Linked DNA regions of Homo sapiens: region 1 is linked to region 2. The links are contacts of gene promoters, found by promoter capture Hi-C in blood cells and fetal thymus (Javierre and others, 2016). All regions are on one chromosome and are shown on one strand. Each heading gives the region's core, a stretch centred on a gene start or on the middle of the fragment in contact. The rest is flanking DNA. Distances are from core to core; before and after follow the strand shown. Region 1 has its middle 190 kb from the start of MC4R. Region 2 holds the start of PMAIP1 (phorbol-12-myristate-13-acetate-induced protein 1).

Region 1 (4,062 bases), core at 1,014-3,513, 660 kb before region 2:
TGGGGATCGGGGGTCTCTATGCAGTCTCAGCAAGAGAAAGCTTGATGCCCTGGAGAATACTGTGAGCCTTCTCTAATGATGCTGAAGAGTGACTGACCCCAAAAGCTCCTCTGAAGGCCACAAACTGGGCTCCATAGAGTGCCCTATTCAAGTGTGACAACGAGTATCCATAGAGAGTTCATTCAATCATCTTTCACAAGTAAGCCAGAATTGGGTTGTCAGAATTGCGTAAATAGATGCAATTCTTTCGCTAGGTTCTCTCTAGAAGAATGGGAAAAGATAGGTCTAGTTAGATCAAAGAACATGCCAGCCAATGGTTTTGTTTTTTCTCTTCCAAAAATTAAAAGGGGAAAGAAACACGTCAAAAACAGCACATATATTTATAGGAGCTTGTGAATCTTAGACACATGTCAAAACTTTCCTTTTTAGTCAGGCTAATAAATTTAGCCACTGCAACACACCCCGAAAATCTCAGTAGCTTAACAAAACAGAGGTTTATTTCTCACTGTCACCAAAACTCAGTGAAGGCCAGGTGCAGTGATTCAGGCCTGTAATCCCAACACTTTGGGAGGCTGAGGTGGAGGGATCACTAGAGCCCAGGATTTCAAGACCAACCTGGGCAATTTAGGGAGACTCATCTCTACAAAAGAAAAAATTTAAACCAACTAGGTATGCGGGGGCTCACCTGCAGTCTCAGCTACTGGGGCAGGAGTAGGACAGTTGGGAGACATAGAGGATGGGTTGCAGATGTGGGAGGGATTTTTAAGCCCACGATTTTGAGGCCACAGTGATCTATAATTGCACCATACCACTCCAGCCTGGGTGACAGAGCAAGACCCTGACTCAAAAAAAGGCATGCAGTGGGGGGAATTTTGGCAGCCTCCTGGGCAACTTTCCTCCAAAATGAATTAGTGATCCAAATTCAGTCCAACTTGTGAACCCACTGCCTTTGGCATGCAGGCCCCACAATGCTGCAGAAAGGGAAGAGGAGGAATGAGTGAACACGTAGGGGTCTCATGCTGGTGCCTGAGGTGGCAGACATCACTTCCACACTTGAACCAGGTATCTTGAACATGGGCCTCACTGAAACTGGAGGGTAAGCTAAGAGTCTAGGGGAGCCATTAGCCTCTCCTGCAGCTACTTAAGAGACACATTTATCAGCAGATCTAAGGGACTTCCCTCATCCAAGACATCTCAGTTTTACTAGAAAGAGCACCTTAGTGCTTATCCTATATTCATGCTTACATTTACAATAATTTCCTAAAGACAGCATTTCACATCAAATTAAATAGTACTTTCTTCTCTATGCCCATATATGGTGGGAAATAGGTATATTATCTATTTGGGGGATTTTAATTATGGTATAAAAATAACAGCTAATTAACAGGTAACATATATGTGGTGATACATTAATGAGCTTAATTTGTTATATAACTGAAAATGTGCCTCTGTTTTACAAAGACACATCCATTTCATCATTTCTTTATATCATATTTTATACTTTCTATCTTTAATTGCCCTCAGGACTTATCATATCTTCCACCAGACTTCAAAATAAATATCTTTCAATAATAATTAAAATGATCAATAAATAGCAGTATTTTGGTACTTGTTGTTACATTTAAATATACTAAAATCCAAATAAAAAATTATGAATGAATAAAATCTGCTTTCCACATTTCCTTAATTGAAATTTCTGACTTCTGATTGATGTGAATAAGCTTTCTAAAAGTAAATCTCAGGAGAGTGTTCAACTAATAATGTCCTCAAAACATTTATATTGTTTTCTTTCCCTATATGTTGGCTTTGTCAGTCTTACAAATATTTGTTTCTTCTAACTTTTCAGCATGGACAAAATAAACAGCATCAAGCTTCTTATATGACTTCAAAAATTCATTCCTTTTAAATAGATATGTTCATAACAAAGCTAGGCCCTTCGCAGTTGGTAACAAACATAGCTACCTTTAAAATCTTAAAAGAATGCAAAGACCTAGGGAACATAGGTGATATCTGAGAGAAATGTTTTACAAAACAAAGTCTTCAAATAAAAGAAATATATGTACTTAGCTATAAGCATTTTGGAAAAACACAATACACATCCAAGATAAATACCATAAGGCACAGCAGCAATAGATTCCAGATTCTGAGAGGAGAGGATACGAATATAGAATGATAATTGGAGTCTAAAGCAATCAACCGGGCAACAACAACAAATGCTACATAATTGTACAACTATTTGCATATATGAGAAATCAAAACTACAAAGAACAGTGGGTTTTTTTGCAAAGTCCTTGAGAGTTTAGTCTACAAAGTAAATTTTAAATGATTTTTTTGTTTGTTTGGAAAGGTCTCAGTGTGAAATACTTTATAAATGACACCTAATTAAGACTTAAATTGCCTCTATCAGAATGAAAAGATTTCCTTTTCAAAACAGTCTTGAAGTAAGTTGTATCTTGATGCAGAGATTTCACTGGACAAATTAAATATACAGTATACATAAGGGCACAGAGAGAGAATGACCAGTTCTGTTTTTGGGAGCACTTACTTGTGCTTTTATAAGAACAAACAATTAACTAGGTTTTGAAGCTATCTTGTAAAGACTGGGGAAAGCATCCCAAGCAAAGGAGACTATAGGTCTAAGGGTATAAAGCTTTGAAATTCTTAGTTATGAGGAAATCATGGAGACTACAGCTTGTTGGAGCACTGAGATGGAGATGTGGTAGTGAGAATGTGGATTGGAGCTATCTGCATTCATCTAACCTAAAGACCACCATGCCTGCTGCACCTACTGTCTTACAAGTAAGTGCTCAATTACAGAAACTTCGCTAAACATGGGAGGCATGACATTTGCAATACTCCCTTGAGCATAGTCACTAAAATTGGTTTCTTTTATCTACAGGGATCCAGGCTGTAAATTCCAGTCAGTGCTCCCCACTTCCTGAGGCTTCATGGCTCTCTGACCTTGACTTGCTCCTGCCCTCTGCTCCAGCAGGCTTTGTCAGGGCTAAGCAAGTATTTCCCTTATTATGTGAACCCAGAAGAAGAGGACTAAAGCTAATGTGACCTCTCACCACTCTCTCTCTGTCTCTGTCTCTCTCTCTCTCTCACACACACACACACACACACACACACACACACACACCCACACATGCCCACACATATATATCTGGAAGGTACAGGAGTTGAGTTAAAGCATTACTGTTTTACCTGCATATTACTGTTAATGCTGGAAATATACAGGTATTTACCTTTAGTTTTTAGTGTTATGTGTGGGAAGGATGAATGCTGGCGGGGGTGGGGGGCGGATTTAATTCTACCAGCAGCTTTTGTTAGATGAAACATCAGAAGATTTACTTATTGTAAAAGGCATTTGTCCTTTTTCAGTCTCTCAAAGCTCAGAAGGTCAGCAGCTCCAAAGGACATTGTTCTGTGTTGAATATAATGAAATCCATGCTTTGTCCTCTGTGACAATAATGGGGAATATTCTTAAATTTGACTGGCTGATGGGGCATGAAATTCAATTACTGTTCATTCAAGTATTGTTTGAGCTATACAAGTTTGTTCTTTTGTAAAATTTAACAAATAGAAGGGAAATAGAGTGTCTTCCAGTTGAAAGATATAATTGACATTGTTATTCTGTAATTATAATTACCTTTATAATCCATTACCTTTTGAAGTCTGCTCTCCAAAAAAGAAATTAAACAAAAGAAGATAACAGAGAAACCTTGAATAATTTGGCTAGATCACTTGCATCAATGCAGCAAGTTTTCAACTTAAAATTTTCTAGCAATTATTTTAACATAAATAAGTTGGGAACACATTTTGTCATGACATCGAATCTCATTTAATTATTCCATCAAAGATAGAGTATCCATTCTGAAATATTGATATCAAATGATAAATCATTTTCTCTTGAACCAGAATCTGCCTTCTCATTAGTTTCTGTGATACCCAAATAACTTCATTCTTTCTACAAAGATGAAAATATTGGGTCAACCTTTTCTTTGAAACTTTCCATTTCTACATGATGGATTATAGTTATTTTGGAGAATAGTTACAATT
Region 2 (4,342 bases), core at 571-3,070:
AGTGCAGTTAACACTATACTGACTATAATATCGTATCTATACTGACTATAATTTCAATTTTCTTGAATATTTCAAAGAGCAGCTTGAGGTCTTTCGGGTACACTTCATGATTACAAACATTAAAAAATCATGATTACAAATTAAAATCTGGTCTATTTTATAAATCGACCCTGAAAATACCGTATTTAGGCTCAAAATAAATCAAAGCTGTCAATATATAGTAAAGCAAAATCTTAAACCTATATTTCAACCAATTTCTCTCTACAAGAAGTGAGTGAAATCTTTCCTAACTCCTACACCAAGAGACCTAATAAATCCCTTAAGGTGTTATTCTTTATGGGCTACAAGATCAAATATGTTGGGAAGTATTTACATAGACATGTTGTCTACAGAGATTGAGATATATTAATATACAGTTCTAAAAGAAAAACCAAATACCATTCAGCGTCCGACACTGGAAGCCCTGAATTCTAAGTGGAAAAGTTATCCCTTTCACCAAAAATGTAGAAAACAAGGCAGAAAATACTTCCCGGTCATTTCCTTAATTTTTTAAAAATTGCATTACACACCTATAAATGTATTAGTATCAATCAAATCAAGTTTAAGAGGGACTTTGTGCTGCTTCCTGTTCTTGGGAATTAAGTCGGACCAGAAAGTGCTATGCATAAGTAAGATCCTTCAGAAAGAAACAAGGTCAGAATCCTAAGACATCACAAAAGGTAGACAAAGCTTTTTCCATCCCACACAAGCGCCAGAGACAGCAGCCTGTTACCAACTTAGGCATGGTCACATTTGCAATGCACCACTTCCTTCGCACGCCCCAGGAGCTCTATAAAATGAAAGTAACTTAAAAGGTGGGGGGGGCGTATAATCGTCTGATGCAACAGCAGTATGGCCCACACAGACTTCGGGCTCTGGGCAGTGACTGGGTTCTCTGTTTAGATTTAGAAAAAGCATGGGGCCGGGGCGCTGGCCTGAAAACTTACGATGGAGCTGTATGTATCGGGGTGGGGAGTGCGAATGAATGAATGAAAAAAAGGAGCGGACTAACTCCTATTCTCCTATCCCCACCTCCCACAATATCGATTATTTAAATGTTACAAGATTTTCTAGGCTCCTGAACACAGGGGCCCTTGTGGGGCCGTCTCTGGAAGCGCTGGGAGTCCAGGCGGTCCCCGGGGCTCTCTCCTGCCCCTTCTGCCGCGACAATGACTTTCTCCTAGAGACAGCCGCCTACACTTGCACTTGTTCCTCGTGGCCCCGGGGAAGGGCAAGTGGCGAGGAGGAAAGAGAGGAGGAAAGGAGCTTTTTGCCCCTGGTGAAACGCAGCTGCATCCCAATCGCAAATCCGGCTTGGTCCCTCGCCGTACCCGCCGTACCCGCCGGTCCTGGGGAAAAACCCCGAAGAACTTTCTGGAGGCGCCCCTAAGGCTCGCGCCAGGGCACAGACCTGGCCCGACCTTGACCCCCGTGCAGTCTGTGCTTGAGCCCCGGCGAGCTGAGCCCGCCCCAGCCGAGACCTCGACCCCGGCCCCGACCCCGCCCGGCCTGGGTCTTCGCTGGCCCCAGCGGGTCGGTACCTGCTGGAGCCCGCGCGGGGCTCGGTTGAGCGTTCTTGCGCGCCTTCTTCCCAGGCATCTCCGCCGGTGCCGCCGCCCACTCAGCTACAGAGCCCGGGAACCTCAGCCTCCAACTGGAGCACCTCGGACAGCTGCAGGACGCGAGCTGAACACGAACAGTCCTGCAGGCAGGGATGCTGGGATCGGGTGTCCGGACGCGCGGAGATGCCAACTACACACGGTGAGTGCCCGGGAAACTCTGAGATCCCCGCGCCAGAGACCACGCTTTTGTCCAGTGAGAACTTCCCTGGTGACGTAGGGAAACTAGACGCCCGGCCCGCCCCTGTCCCCGCCCCTGTCCCCGCCCCGCAGACGGCGTTATGGGAGCGGACGCGGGACGCGGGCGGGGAAGTACCCCGCTGAGCGCGACCTGCCCGGACACGCTCCCGACCCGCGGCGGCGCCGACCCGCGGCGGGGGGCGCAGAGCGCTCGGCCCCGAAATTACTTCCTTACAAAACGAGGTGGGAGGAGAAGGGGGTCGGCTTTGACCATCTGCAAACGCTGGACGTCGTCAGCGGCAGTGGTGGCGGGAGCTGGGAGTGGCGGGAGCTGGGAGTGGCGGGAGGGGAAGGGTTTAACCAGGAGGAACGTTGTGGGTGGGGAGAGACCAGAGGCCTTGGCAATTAGAGACTTGGGTAAACAAGCCCAGAAAAGAGATTGGAAAAGGAAACTTTTCGAACTTGAAGAGTATGGGCAGTAACAGGGAAGGGAAATGAGAAGAACCTTAATCACCGCAGAGGAGATGCCAGAGGCCCTGTGAGAAAGCTCCGGGTCCCAGGAAGTCACTGCAAACAGAAGCCCTGGTGCCAGCCAGAAAGAACATCGTGTTTGAGTTGGGAAGGGATTTGTGTGTGTCCTTCCAGATAGGTCGATATCGCCCATTGTGGATGTTTAGCAAAAACGAGTGGATCGTTATCATATGGAAAACGTTCAAATCTTTTGTGGGAGGGCTGAGCTACCTGGGAACGTGAAATTATTTGCATAATGTTTGGCGAGGCCATGAGTAATTCTACTATTATGAAGAGGAGTAATTAGGAGTGGTTAACGGTTACTGAGAGCCGCTTCATGCTAAGGACTTTGACATGCATTTTCTCATTCCGTCCTCAGAACAACCGTTGCTACTTTACGGGTGCAGAAACTGAGGTTTGTAGAAAATTGCCCAAGTTCACTTAGGCAGAGAGCACTGCCCTGATTCCGAACCAGGCAGGCCCACAGAGAGCAAGAGCTCTTACCCACTGTAGCCTTCCCAGCAATCAGTTTCTTAGAAAATGTGTGTTTTCGCCGAACGCGGTGGCTCACGCCTGTAATCCCAGCTCTTTGGGAGGCCGAGGCGGGTGGTTCGTTTGAGGCCAGGAGTTCGAGACCAGCCTTGCCAATATGGTGAAACCCCGTCTCTACTGAAATACAAAAGATTAGCCGGCCTTGGTGGTGCACGCCTGTCGTCCCAGTTGCTTGGGCGGCTGAGGCACGAGAATCGCTTGAACCTGGGAGGCGGAGGTTGCAGTGAGCCGAGATCGCGCCACTGCATTCCAGCCTGGGTGACGGAATAAGACTCTGTCTCAAAAAAGAAAAAGAAAAAAAAAGCGTGTTTTCATATTAGCTGTGCTGTTTAATGAAAAGATTGCAAATTCGTTGCATGGGCTCCCTAGAAGTGCTTAGTTTGGTTTACAGTATTGGCCTTCAAAATGTATTGTAAAAATTTGAATTGATTACCAACATTTTAAACATTGAGGGATTGCATGAAAAACCCAGATTCCAGCATCTCTTGGAAAACCAGAATCTCTGACAACGTGGGATCCATTTTCCAAAAGTGCAAACTAGGTTTGAAGTGTGGTCGAAGCCACACCCTTTAGAGGAACCTAGGGTGCTCCTGTTCACCACACTCCCCGCTGTTTGCTTTTCCCATTTACATTATCTGGCCTCAGTAGGCATTTGAGGTTGTTTATTTATCTTAAATCATTCAGTCAACACAAACCAGCAAGTATTTATTTATGGCTTGGTCCTGCTGAAGGTATGGACAACAATATAAGCATGGAACAAAACTGCTCTTGAGTTTAAACAACATAGTTTCGAGGCTGATGTTGGCTGTTTTTGAATGGGGTATATACAAACGAGTAAAAGTGGACAGAATTTAGGAATCATCACAAGACGCAGGAAGCACACTGGAGATGCTGCCTTGAAATCTATTATCCCCAAGTGGTAATTCAAAACCACTCCAGGCTCATTTTGACTTACCTAATACATAAGGAACACCGTTAACTTTTTGGTTGCATAAATTATTAAATTTCTGTCGTTCAAATACGCACCCTGAAATGCAGAGAATATACTCAACAACCACCAAAAAAAAAAAAAAAAAGTGAATCACAACATTGTTTACCTATAAAAGGTATGTTAATCCCATCCTCTAACATTTTCATTAGAAAAGAATTGGTCATGTGACTCACACTGGCTACAAACCTTAGGCAACTCTGTTTTTTAGGGAATTGCAAATTCAGCTTGCAAGGAGGAAAAGAGCGGAAAGAAGTCGGGCGAGGTGGGTTTTGGACATGGGTCAGATTCAGCTGGTTTATAGAGGACTTTTAAAGATTTAGGATTTGAGATGGTCCATAAACTCTTTGGCAGATCTAACATTCTCTAAAGAGAATTGGCCAGGCATAGTGGCTCACGCCTGTAATCTCAGCACTGTGGGAGGTGGAGGCTGGGGGATCGCTTGAGTCCAGGA

Evidence for each region. Contacts are between HindIII fragments. The CHiCAGO score rates a contact against its expected background, and 5 or more counts as called.
Region 1: a contact is called between a fragment that was not itself captured here and the fragment with the promoter of PMAIP1 in region 2, in 1 of 17 cell types (M0 macrophages). The highest score is 6.7, in M0 macrophages.

What each region holds. Positions count from the first base shown.
Region 1 is chr18:60,559,668-60,563,729 of GRCh38, reverse strand. No RefSeq gene overlaps it. Among named protein-coding and RNA genes, the nearest start is that of MC4R, 190 kb to the right of the region's middle. The HindIII fragment of the contact is 779 bases long and covers 1,874-2,652 here.
Region 2 is chr18:59,897,474-59,901,815 of GRCh38, reverse strand. It overlaps PMAIP1 (phorbol-12-myristate-13-acetate-induced protein 1), which reads right to left and starts at 1,820. Exons shown (of 2, transcript NM_021127.3): 1 at 1,581-1,820. The coding sequence starts at 1,638. RefSeq lists silencers at 1,454-1,663, 1,814-2,223 and an enhancer at 1,980-2,731. The HindIII fragment of the contact is 10,069 bases long and covers 732-4,342 here.